Regions from separate parts of the Homo sapiens genome. Here all the other regions are linked to region 2. The links are contacts of gene promoters, found by promoter capture Hi-C in blood cells and fetal thymus (Javierre and others, 2016). All regions are on one chromosome and are shown on one strand. The core of a region is centred on a gene start or on the middle of the fragment in contact, and the rest is flanking DNA. Distances in the headings are between cores, read along the strand shown. Region 1 overlaps NASP (nuclear autoantigenic sperm protein). Region 2 holds the start of P3R3URF (PIK3R3 upstream open reading frame). Region 3 overlaps GPBP1L1 (GC-rich promoter binding protein 1 like 1).

The links. Contacts are between HindIII fragments. The CHiCAGO score rates a contact against its expected background, and 5 or more counts as called.
Region 1: a contact is called between a fragment that was not itself captured here and the fragment with the promoter of P3R3URF in region 2, in 4 of 17 cell types (erythroblasts, M1 macrophages, fetal thymus and 1 more). The highest score is 9.1, in erythroblasts.
Region 3: a fragment that was not itself captured here is called in contact with the fragment with the promoter of P3R3URF in region 2 in 3 of 17 cell types (endothelial precursors, M0 macrophages and erythroblasts); the score reaches 9.6 in endothelial precursors.

What each region holds. Positions count from the first base shown.
Region 1 is chr1:45,610,442-45,613,960 of GRCh38, forward strand. It overlaps NASP (nuclear autoantigenic sperm protein), which reads left to right. Exons shown (of 15, transcript NM_002482.4): 7 at 2,728-2,807. Among named protein-coding and RNA genes, the nearest start is that of CCDC17, 12 kb to the right of the region's middle. The HindIII fragment of the contact is 216 bases long and covers 1,750-1,965 here.
Region 2 is chr1:46,175,128-46,178,863 of GRCh38, forward strand. It overlaps P3R3URF (PIK3R3 upstream open reading frame), which reads right to left and starts at 1,361. Exons shown (of 2, transcript NM_001328655.2): 1 at 1,101-1,361; 2 at 359-502. The coding sequence starts at 1,344. The coding sequence ends at 459. It overlaps P3R3URF-PIK3R3 (P3R3URF-PIK3R3 readthrough), which reads right to left and starts at 1,361. Exons shown (of 10, transcript NM_001303427.2): 1 at 1,101-1,361. The coding sequence starts at 1,344. It overlaps TSPAN1 (tetraspanin 1), which reads left to right. Exons shown (of 9, transcript NM_005727.4): 1 at 1-282. The HindIII fragment of the contact is 5,416 bases long and covers 432-3,736 here.
Region 3 is chr1:45,644,698-45,648,081 of GRCh38, forward strand. All of the region lies in intron 6 of GPBP1L1 (GC-rich promoter binding protein 1 like 1), which reads right to left. It also overlaps the pseudogene RPS15AP10. Among named protein-coding and RNA genes, the nearest start is that of CCDC17, 22 kb to the left of the region's middle. The HindIII fragment of the contact is 647 bases long and covers 1,013-1,659 here.

The sequences.
Region 1 (3,519 bases), core at 608-3,107, 560 kb before region 2:
ACTTTCTGTGCTTTATTTCCCTTTACGTGGCAGCACCATTCTGCAGAAAACTTCCAAGCAGTTTTTTTCACTTAAAAATTAAAACCCTGTTTACTGCCACCTCTTGACTCTTTGCCATGTGTTGGGCTGTACATTTGCTTCTAATAAAGATAATTGGTCTGTTCTTTTTCTCTTTGAATCGGGTCTTGCTCTTTTGCCAGGCTGGAGTACAGTGGCATCGCAGTCATGGCTCACGACAGCCTCAAACTCCTATGCTGAAGCCATCTTCCTCCCTCAGTCTCTCAGGCAGCTGAGACTATGGGTGTGTATCACCATGCCCAGCTGGGGTGCAGTGGTGCGGTCTCGCTCACTGCAACCTGCATCTCCCAGGTTCAAGCGATTCTCCTACGTCAGCCTCCTGAGTAGCTGGGACTAAAGGCACATGTCCCCAGGCCCGACTAATTTTTTTGTATTTTTACTAGAGATGGGATTTCACCATGCTGGCCAGGTTGGTCTCGAACTCCTGACCTCAGGTGATCCACTAGCCTCAGCCTCCCAGAGTGCTGGGATTACAGGTGTGAACCATTGCACCTGGCCCACCATACACCATTATCTTCTCATATCCACATTTCCAAGTGGGTCCGGGCTTAGTTCCCCAAAGTTAGACCAGATGGATGGTCTTATTAACTCTGCCCATCCTCTAGCAGAATATGCAGAAAAGCTGAAGTAGATTTACATATGTAGGATAATTGATAGAAAAGTAAATACTTCATCTTCCCAATTTGTAGGAAAAATTAAATTGATATTGTTATCTTCTATTCTTACCTGGTATCTCTTCCTACTCATACCAGAATACTAGAAGACAACCTCTAATTTGAAACAAAATATCTTAATTACTTGGAAGTTTTACATCAAATTTTTAAATTAAAATTCCTATAATTGCTTCAGAAGAATATTACTGGTTCCTCTTGAGGAATCTGTACCATCTTCAAGGAATGGTGGGGAGCTAGGTTAAGGAGAAAGCCATCGCCATTACTTTTTTTTTTTTTTTTTTTTTTTTTTTTGAGACAGAGTCTTGCTCTGTCACCCAGGCTGGAATGCAGTGGCGTGATCTAGGCTCACTGCAACCTCCGCCTCCTAGGTTCAAGTGATTGTTCTGCCTCCGCCTCCCGAGTAGCTGGGACTACAGGCATGTGCCACCACGCCTGGCTAATTTTTTGTATTTTTAGTAGAGACGGGGTTTCACCGTGTTAGCCAGGATGGTCCCAATCTCCTGACCTGGTGATCTGCCCACCTTGGCCTCCCAAAGTGCTAGGATTACAGGTGTGAGCCACCGCGCCTGGCAGCCATTGCCATTACTTTAAAACCTTTCCCAACTTGTGCCCAGGTATCAATGGCAATGCCCTGATGTCCTCAGTAAATTTGTTAAAGTATCTTTTTTTTTTTTTTTTTTTTTTGAGACGGAGTCTTGCTCTGTCACCCAGGCTGGAGTGCAGTGGTGCGATAATCCGCTCACTGCAAGCTCCACCTCCTGGGTTCACGCCATGCTCCTGCCTCAGCCTCCCAAGTAGCTGGGACTACATGCGCCTGCCACCACACCTGGCTAATTTTTTTGTTTTTTGGTTTTTTTTTTTAGTAGAGACGGGGTTTCACCATGTTCGCCAGGATGGTCTCAATCTCCTGACCTCGTGATCCGCCCGCCTCGGCCTCCCAAAGAGCTGGGATTACAGGCGTGAGTCACCGCGCCTGACCCTGTTAAAGTATTTTCTAAGCTTCTTTGAAAACGGAATCTCTTTGTGGTTGCTGCTGATAAAACTCCTTTGACCTGACGATTGCTCTAAGTCCTAATTGCCATATTTATATTCCCATAGTAAGAGTGTTTGGAGATAGTGTTTGAGCTTTTTTGCTGGTGTTAAAAATGCATAATGAAAGATGGCAGAGAGAGGCATATTATATCCAATTCATGAGTTGTTTGTGTTAACAGAAAGCTTATTTTAATCACTTAACATTGTTGATTTGTCTAATCACAGTAGCGCTATTGATTAGGAGCCTGACCTTTAGATGGTTGACTTGTGAGTGTATTCAATATGGTGAAATATGGTGTTGATATATGGCTGCAGATTTTAGAGGTGTCATTAGCAAAGGTATAGGAGTAAAATAGGGGTTATAGTATTCCTTACTCAAATTCTGTATGTGCTAGAGCTGGCTGGAGTCTGTGGCATGCTCATTGGTGTAAGTCGGTAAGGACTATGCTTTTTGCTCCACATCTCTGTTGTGGGAAAGCTAGTCTCTTGAGCATTCTTGATCAGAATGGACTGGAATAATTTAACTTTCGTACTTTCCCAGGCTATTAGTATTATCTAATGAGTGGCTTAAAGATACCAGAAACACTGACTGAGGTCTCCACCTGCTTCTGGCTGAATGAATGGGAGCTTCTAGCCATTGAATAAGAGGCAGTAGCCAATGTTTCTTATTCTGAATGGTCCAGGTTGACTTTTATAAGAGAAACACTCAGCCTTTTAATTGCTGAAGGTCTGACCCATAGACTAAGATTGCACATTCTTAGTCTAGGTTACACTTGAACTAGACTGCACCCACTGACGATATATTCAGTTCAGGTGTTAACTCACTTGGATTAGCATCTGGCCTGTCCTATCTGAATATAGGTTGAGACGTGTATTGGAATCTCTGACTAGTCAGAATACGTTCTTAGTTATATTCTCAATACTGAGGAATTTTTACTTGTAGAAACTGAAGGCTCAGAAGAGGATGATAAAGAAAATGATAAGACCGAAGAAATGCCAAATGATTCAGTCCTTGAAAACAAGGTATGTTGTTAGCCACTCAGTACTGTTGTCAGCCTTTTTCTGTTTTTGGGAGACTGGAGCTCACTCTTGTTGCCTAGGCTGGATTGCAGTGGGGTGATCATGATCATGGCTCACTGCAGCCTAGACCCGGGCTTAAGTGATCGCCTCACCTCAGCCTCTCAAGTAGCTGGGACTACAGGCTTGTGCCAACATGCCCAGCTAGTTTGCAGGACTGTAGCTTACCTAGTTTAGGCACGATTATTATTTTTTTAAGAGATAGAATCTCTGTCTCTGCCCAGGCCGGAGTGCACTGGCATGATCAGGGCTCACTGTATCTTTAGCCTCCTGGGTTCAAGGAATCCTTCTGCCTCATCTTCTCAGATAGCTAGGTCTCCAGATGTCTGCCACCATGTCTGGCTAATTTGTTCTCTAATTTTATTTTGTTTAGACGGCTGTCTTGCTGTGCTGCCCAGGCTGGTCTCAAACCTGGCTTCAAGTTATTCTCCTGCCTCAGCCTCCCAAAGTGTTGGGATTATAGGCATAACCCACCATGCCCAGCCCTAGGCATGATTATTATAGATAACTGTCTCTTGATTATGGATTAGGGACCCTTTATTCATGCCTAGGATGGGTGGATATATTTGATCCTGGGGTTCTTGTGTGTTAGTATGTGAGCCAACATTTCACTGTTAAAATATCAGTGACATGGTCATGACTTAAGACAGTATGTGGA
Region 2 (3,736 bases), core at 111-2,610:
CAGGCACACAGAGGCACATCCACCTCACATCCACCTCATACTTGTGTACTCTCAGGGTTCAGTCTTTCATCCTATCCCTCTCTGATCTGTGCCTCCCAATACCTTCCAAGATGTTTACAGAGACCCTTCTCCCTGTGCAGTTAGGAGTGTAAGGCAAGAGAGCCCCTACTTCATGGGGCAGATCAAGAGCTGAGACCAAAGATGGTCTATGTTGCTGACCTTGTCCTGTCCTCCTGCTGTCTTAAACTATGATCCCTGCTGCGGTCACTGAAGCCTTTCCCTGTAAGTATTCAGCCATAACCCTCCCCTCACGCCCTGCATAGTCAGCTGGTTAACACCTCTGTGTGGAATAAGGCAGTTTGAGCAGAATGACTGTATTTGTTGTTCACCACCCACACGGCCCCTAGGAGATGCAGGTCCAGGGCAAACCAAGCTTCTGGGCTAGCTTCTGGGCACTTCTAGAGGATCAGAAAAATCCCAGGTTGCCTGAGATGTCTGAGAACTGAGGAGAGGAAGGAGAGGGAAGAGTTTGAGGAAGGAAGCAGTTCTGGAAGTTCCCTGCCTCTTGGATTCAGCCCCTCCCCAAACCCTCTGCTTCCAGCCAATCCATCCTCCATTAAGGCTGTCAGCACTTTGGGGTGCCTGCCATCAGGAGTCCCCCATATATGTAGGGGTGCTATTTCACAGAGATCATCCTTTGGCGTGCCTAAACAGAACCAGGTAGGGAAATCTTCACTGGCTCTGGTTTTTTTTTTTTTTTCTTGAGACAGAGTCTAGCTCTGTCACCCAGGCTGGAGTGCAGTGGCGCGATCTTGGCTCACTGCAACCTCTGCCTCCCGGGTTCAAGCAATTCTCCTGCCTCAGCCTCCCAAGTAGCTGGGACTAAAGGCGTGTGCCACCACGCCCGGCTAATTTTTTTTTGTATTTTTAGTAGAGATGGGATTTCACCGTGTTAGCCAGGATGGTCTCGATCTCCTGACCTTGTGATCTGCCCGCCTTGGCCTCCCAAAGTGCCGGGATTACAGGCATGAGCCACCGCACCCAGCCTAGTGGCTCTGTTTTTTAAAACCCCACCCTGGCTCACAGGCCCCCTGGCTAACCTTGAGGTGGGAAGATCCACACTATGGTGGTGTCAGTGTGGGTGTTGTTGATACCCATGGCCCTGGTGGCAGGATTGATGGCTGCACTGCTGGCAGTTCGACCTCGGAGACCCTGTTGATATCTTCTGCGGCTACACTTGAACATCCTGGGAAATCGGGGCCTGGGCCAGCCCATACCTGGCCTGCGGTAGGGGGAACGCATGCCCTGGGGCCGAGGGCCACGGACAAGCCGAGATGGCCCCATGGGCACAGGGAGCTTCTGCAGTGTGCCTGGGGGGTGCTGTTGGCCAGGGTAGCTGAGGCCTCTATGACATACAAAGTCTGCATAAGGGCAGGGCCCTTTATTACAAGTCGTGGGCCCTGGCCCCTCCTCATGGGTCAGGCTCCTTCACAATCTTCTTTATTGGGTCTGGCCTAAAAGCCAGCCCAAGAGCCAGACAGCCTCAGTTTGGCCCCTTGGGAAAAGAGGCCCTAGAGGCGGAACTCACTTCCTCACTTTCTCACTTATCCATATAGTAACAATATTAACAATGTTTTTTGAGCACTTACTACGTGCCAGACACTGTGCTGAGCACTTTACCAACGTTATCTCATTTAATCTCAGCTACTTTACAAGGATATGCCATCATTATACCTATTTATATACAGTCAATTCTCATTATTCCCAGTAATGTTCTATAAAGTCGCCACAAACACTAAATACTGAACAAAGGGTAAATGCAAGGTTAGGTTCCTGAAACCCTCTGGTCACAATATTTTTGTCAACTGATCTATACATATAACCTGATTTTATGTGTGGAGACACCTTATTTAATATATATTGTTGGCCAGGCATGGTGGCTCAAGCCTGTAATCCCAGCACTTTGGGAGGCCGAGGTGGGCAGATCACCTGAGGTCAGGAGTTCAAGACTAGCCTGGTTAACATGGCAAAACCCCATCTCTACTAAAAATACAAAAATTAGCTGGGTGTGGTGGTGGGTGCCTGTAGTCCCAGCTACTCAGGAGGCTGAGACAGGAGAATAGCTTGAACCCAGGAGGTGGAGATTGCAGTGAGCCCAGATTGCACCATTGCACTCCAGCCTGGGCAACAAGAGTGAAACTCTGTCTCAAAAAAAAAAAAAATATATCTATCTATCTATCTATCTATCTATCTAACTATCTATCTATATTTGAGTCATTGACATTGAACTCACAGCCAACAGCATTATAACTTGTGCCTGAATGAAACTTATCTAAAGCACATATTTCCCCTATAAGGCACATCACAGCCTTCTTGCACTTAGAAAGACTAGAGAGCACTTCAGCACTACAACTGGGGACCATTTTAGACAGTAAAATCACCAGCAAAAAACACCAAAAAATGTGAGAATATGCGTCACTAAATAGACCACCAAAAAGCACATTTGTTTACTCTATGAAAACTGAAATAAGAAGACAGAGAGTCCTCTTGCTCAACAGACCTCAGCTGGAAATACGTGTGTTGGACGGCTGAAATTTTTTGCCTTTCTGCTCATGTCCATGAATGACTGCAAAAGTACCACAAGTACTGGTTTGGGAATTACAAATAAATTTCAGTAAGCAGGCAAATTCACAGGTATGGAATCTGTGAATAAGGAGGATCCACTGTATAAGGAAACTGGGGCTCAGTGAGGTGAAGTCACACAATTAGAGGCAGGCAGGAAGCAAATCCATGATGATCAAGATCCAAAACCCAGAGCACTTAACTCTCATTATTCTGCACTCATTCACTCAGGAAATGTTCACTGACAACTTCTTATGTGCCAAGCACCAGGGCCATAGATGAATGTAATCTGGTCCCAATTCTTCCTGAGAATGAAACAGAAAGGTTCCAGGTGCGGTGGCTCACGCCTGTAATCCCAGCACTTTGGGAGCCCGAGGTGGGTGGATGACTTGAGGTCAGGAGCTCGAGAGCAGCCTGGTCAACATGGTGAAACCCTGTCTCTACTAAAAATACAAAAATTAGCTGGGTGTGGTGGTGTGCACCTATAATACCAGCTACTCAGGAGGCTGAGGCAGGAGAATCGCTTGAAACTGGGAGGCGGAGGTTGCAGTGAGCCAAGATTGCGCCACTGCATTCCAGCCTGGGCAACAGAGTGAGATTCTGTCAAAAAAAAAAAAAATAGACCTTCTCCTTCTCCTTCCACTCCTCAGTCCCTTCTTCCTTTCCCCCTTACTCTGCTCCTCAAATGCCCCCTTCCCAACTTCATCCTCCTTTCTGTTTGTGGAGGACTCTGTGGCACCCTTAGTACCACCCTCACAAACCTCATCTTTCCCCCATCCCCTCCTCCAGCCTCTACTCTTGCCATCCTCAGTCTTAAAATATGACCTTGCTTCCACCAACTTCTAGCAACTGTAACTATAAACCGACCTGCCCCTGCTCCTCCTCTTCCTCAGGTCAGACCAAGGCCTCTTCCCTTGCTCTTTATGGAAGCCAGCCTTGTCTGCCTCTTTAGAGATTCCATCAGTGTAGACAGTCTGCTTGGTGGTTAAGATGTAGACTCTGGTGCCAGACTAACTGGGATTGAATCCTGGCTCTGCCACTTACAGGCTTTGTGATCATGGCAAGTACCTGACCCTTTGGTGCTTCTATTTCCCCATATTTAAAAATGGAGATC
Region 3 (3,384 bases), core at 86-2,585, 530 kb before region 2:
GAATCCTTAGTGGTTTTGTATTCTTCCATTAGGAGACACACACAAATAACATGTGGTTGTGCTTCTTTTAGTGATGCTGGCAGACACTGGTGCTCATAGCCTAAAACTGTCAGCTCAATACAAGATGCAAAAACAATGATCTAATTTTACAATTCTTTATAAAGTAGTATACTTCCATAAATAGGAACTTCCCCTATTTGGCAATTCAACAGTACAGTTCATATAGAAAAAATATGATACATGCTTGTTCCTAAGGTGAGGTAGGTATCATTGTGAATTCACAGATTTAAATCCAATTTGATGTGATTCAACCCTCGTCGTTATTATTATTAATTGATGCATAAAACTGTCCCATGTTTGGCCTATGGAACCCTCTTCAATTTGGCTTCTAAATCCTTTTGCTACAACCCTAAGTAGTTCTTTACTTCTTTGTTATCTAGTTTGAAAAAATATTCCAAGCTCTTCTTTTAAGTATGCTGTCTGGATAAACTATTTCAAGATCACAATCCAGGCAGTAGAGCCACTCATTGCTATGGGGTTGTTCACTGTTTTTATGTCTTTTCAGTGGACAGAACCGCCTAGAAGTATGTATTTTTCACTCCAAAGCTAAAACACCTCATAACTTATTACTGATATTCCCAATTCAAACTGAGTACCCTTGTGGATTTTACGGAACATCTATTTTACGTTTTTATTTCCTCCTACAAGAATCCTGATTCTCAAGCATACAAAGTATAGAATATCATATTTAATTGCTTTATTCCATATTATGCACAAGTTTCAGAATAGCAATGTCAGTATTTCACCAGTGACCAAAATGTTTTGTTTTTTTTGGACATGTTCTCCCCATCTTCCCACTTTAAAAAAGTTATACTATGTCCAGATTGTGAGATCATATAACTATCACATGCTAACTCTCTTTTAACCCTCATTTCTTCTTAGCTCTACAATTAACCATACATTTAGTATTTACCACCATTCCTTTTGTAATCTTTCTGGTTAGTTTGTCAGAAGCTTGTTCTTCAGTAGTTCTCAGGAAAAGTCTTGGGAACGATATTCCGAAGTTTTTTGTTTTTTTTTTTTTTGAGGCATTTTATTTGTAAATATGTATTGCATCCCTAGAAACAAAATCCAAGGATTTTCCCTCCTGTGTGTTTTCGTCTTGCTTCTTCATGGTCCATGATACCAGCTAAGGCTGTCAATATGACGAAGTCAAATGGTTGGGATAGAAGCAGATTGTTCTGCCGTTTTTCTAGATCTTTGAGTTGCAAATCAAAGCTGGGGCTCTACACTTGTTTAGCCTGCCTGTGAGGTTCACAATTTTCCCAGCTCTGTTATCATCAATGATTTCAAATTTGCCAATGTAACGATGCTTCATCATCACAGCTAGAAGTTGGACAATGACTTTGGAGCATGGCCTAGTAAGAACCGGCGTTTCCCTCTCTTTTCGGCATTGGTGATACTCTTGAGAGCAACAGGTAGGATGTTCACACACACCATTGTGGCAGCGCGAAACAATGCCGGAAAGAGCAATATTCCAAGTACTTACACATTGATGTTTGTCTGTGATCTTTATAACTGAACATTAGCTTGACAAAGCACAAAATCTTTGGCTCACATTTTCTTTATTGTAATTGTTACTCCATTTACTTGTTATAAAGCTTTGCTGTCACAGTCTATCTGGTTTTCTTTCTCTTAACAACTCAGTCTTTATGCCTGAATGGCCAAAGGATATCTTTCTTTTTTTGTTCAAGTCTAGTATTTTGTAAGAGTATGTCTTAGTCATCCTGGCTATCCTTTCAATTTGTAGATTCAAATCTAAATGTATTTCAGAAAAATGTTCCTGAATTATACTTTTCAGTATTTTTTTTTTTTTTGAGACGGAGTCTCACTCTGTCCCCAGGCTGGAGTGCAGTGGCGCGATCTCAGCTCACTGCAAGCTCCACCTCCCGGGTTCACGCCATTCTCCTGCCTCACAGCCTCCCGAGTAGCTAGGACTACAGGCGCCCGCCACCATGCCTGGCTAATTTTTTGTATTTTTAGTAGAGACAGGGTTTCAACATGTTAGTCAGGATGGTCTCGATCTCCTGACCTCGTGATCTGCCCCCCTCGGCCTCCCAAACTGCTGGGATTACAGGTGTGAGCCACCGTACCCGGCCACTTGTCAGTATTTAAGCTATTCCTTTATTTTGGTTTTCTTTCTGGGGGCGGGGTGGGAAGATCCTATTATATATCTATATTAGATCTTTTCTGCCAAACTTTTTTTTCCCAGTTTTAATTTTTTACCTATGTATTTCTCCTTCATTTAAAAAATTTTCCTTCGCTGTCTAATTCTTGAAAAATATTATTTATTCTCTTTATTCTTCAGTATTTTTCTGAAATTTTTTATTATTACTTCTTTTCAAGAGTTCTAGCCCCTTATTTTGAGTTTTCCCAGATGATTTTTTTTTTTAAACCAACTTCTTAGGATTTTTTTTTTTTTTTTTCTGAGACCAAGTTTCATACTCTTGTTGCCCAGGCCGGAGTGCAATGGTGCGATCTTGGCTCACTGCAACCTCTGCCTCCCGGGTTTACGTTCTTTAATGTCCTGGTTATCTTCTCCCTACCGCTTTTATCTGAACCTTTCCTTTCGTCTCTACTAACTTGTCTCTCTGCAGCTCAATCTGGATTATATTTCCAACAGTTTGTCCTCAGTGACGGGCTTTGTTCTGGAAGGGTATAGTGGCCAGCTAGCATGAACAACGATAGAACCCTGTGCTGGTTACCGCTTCTTAGTCACAAAGTCATCCCTTCTGCCTGTTGAGCAAAAATGTGCCTGGACACTTTAAAACTTTTCCTTTGACAGCTGGCATGTTAACTTCTGCCAGCGGAGAACAATGGAGAGATTTTTACTTCCTGTTCCTGTGTGTTTTTCAGCAGGCTCCCACAGCACCCAGTTCCTCAAAGCCAGGTTCTGACATATAAGTGAGCTCAGAGACCAGCAGCTTCCCTCAGCACCTCATCTGAGTAGTTTTGTAGCAGAGTGACACCTCTCATGAAAAGCCTTTCAGCACGCTTCCCCAGAGAAGCACATCAGCAATTACTCTGCCATTCAGTGAGCCACAACTGAGCCCTTTCTAACCAGGTATGAATCTCAGCCCTGGGGTGGTGGTAGGGAAATGGGGGACTCATTCTTGGACACACTGTCTTAGCCCTAAGGGTAGTGGCTGCTCCTTGTATGTATGCATATATGTCTGTGTGTATGTTTTTTTCTTTTTTTTTGAGACAGGGTCTCACTCTGTTACCCAGGGTGGAATGAAGTGGTGCCATCTGGGCTCACTGCAGCTACGACCTGCCAGACTCAAGCAATCCTCCCACCTCAGCCCCCTGAGTAGCTGGGACTAC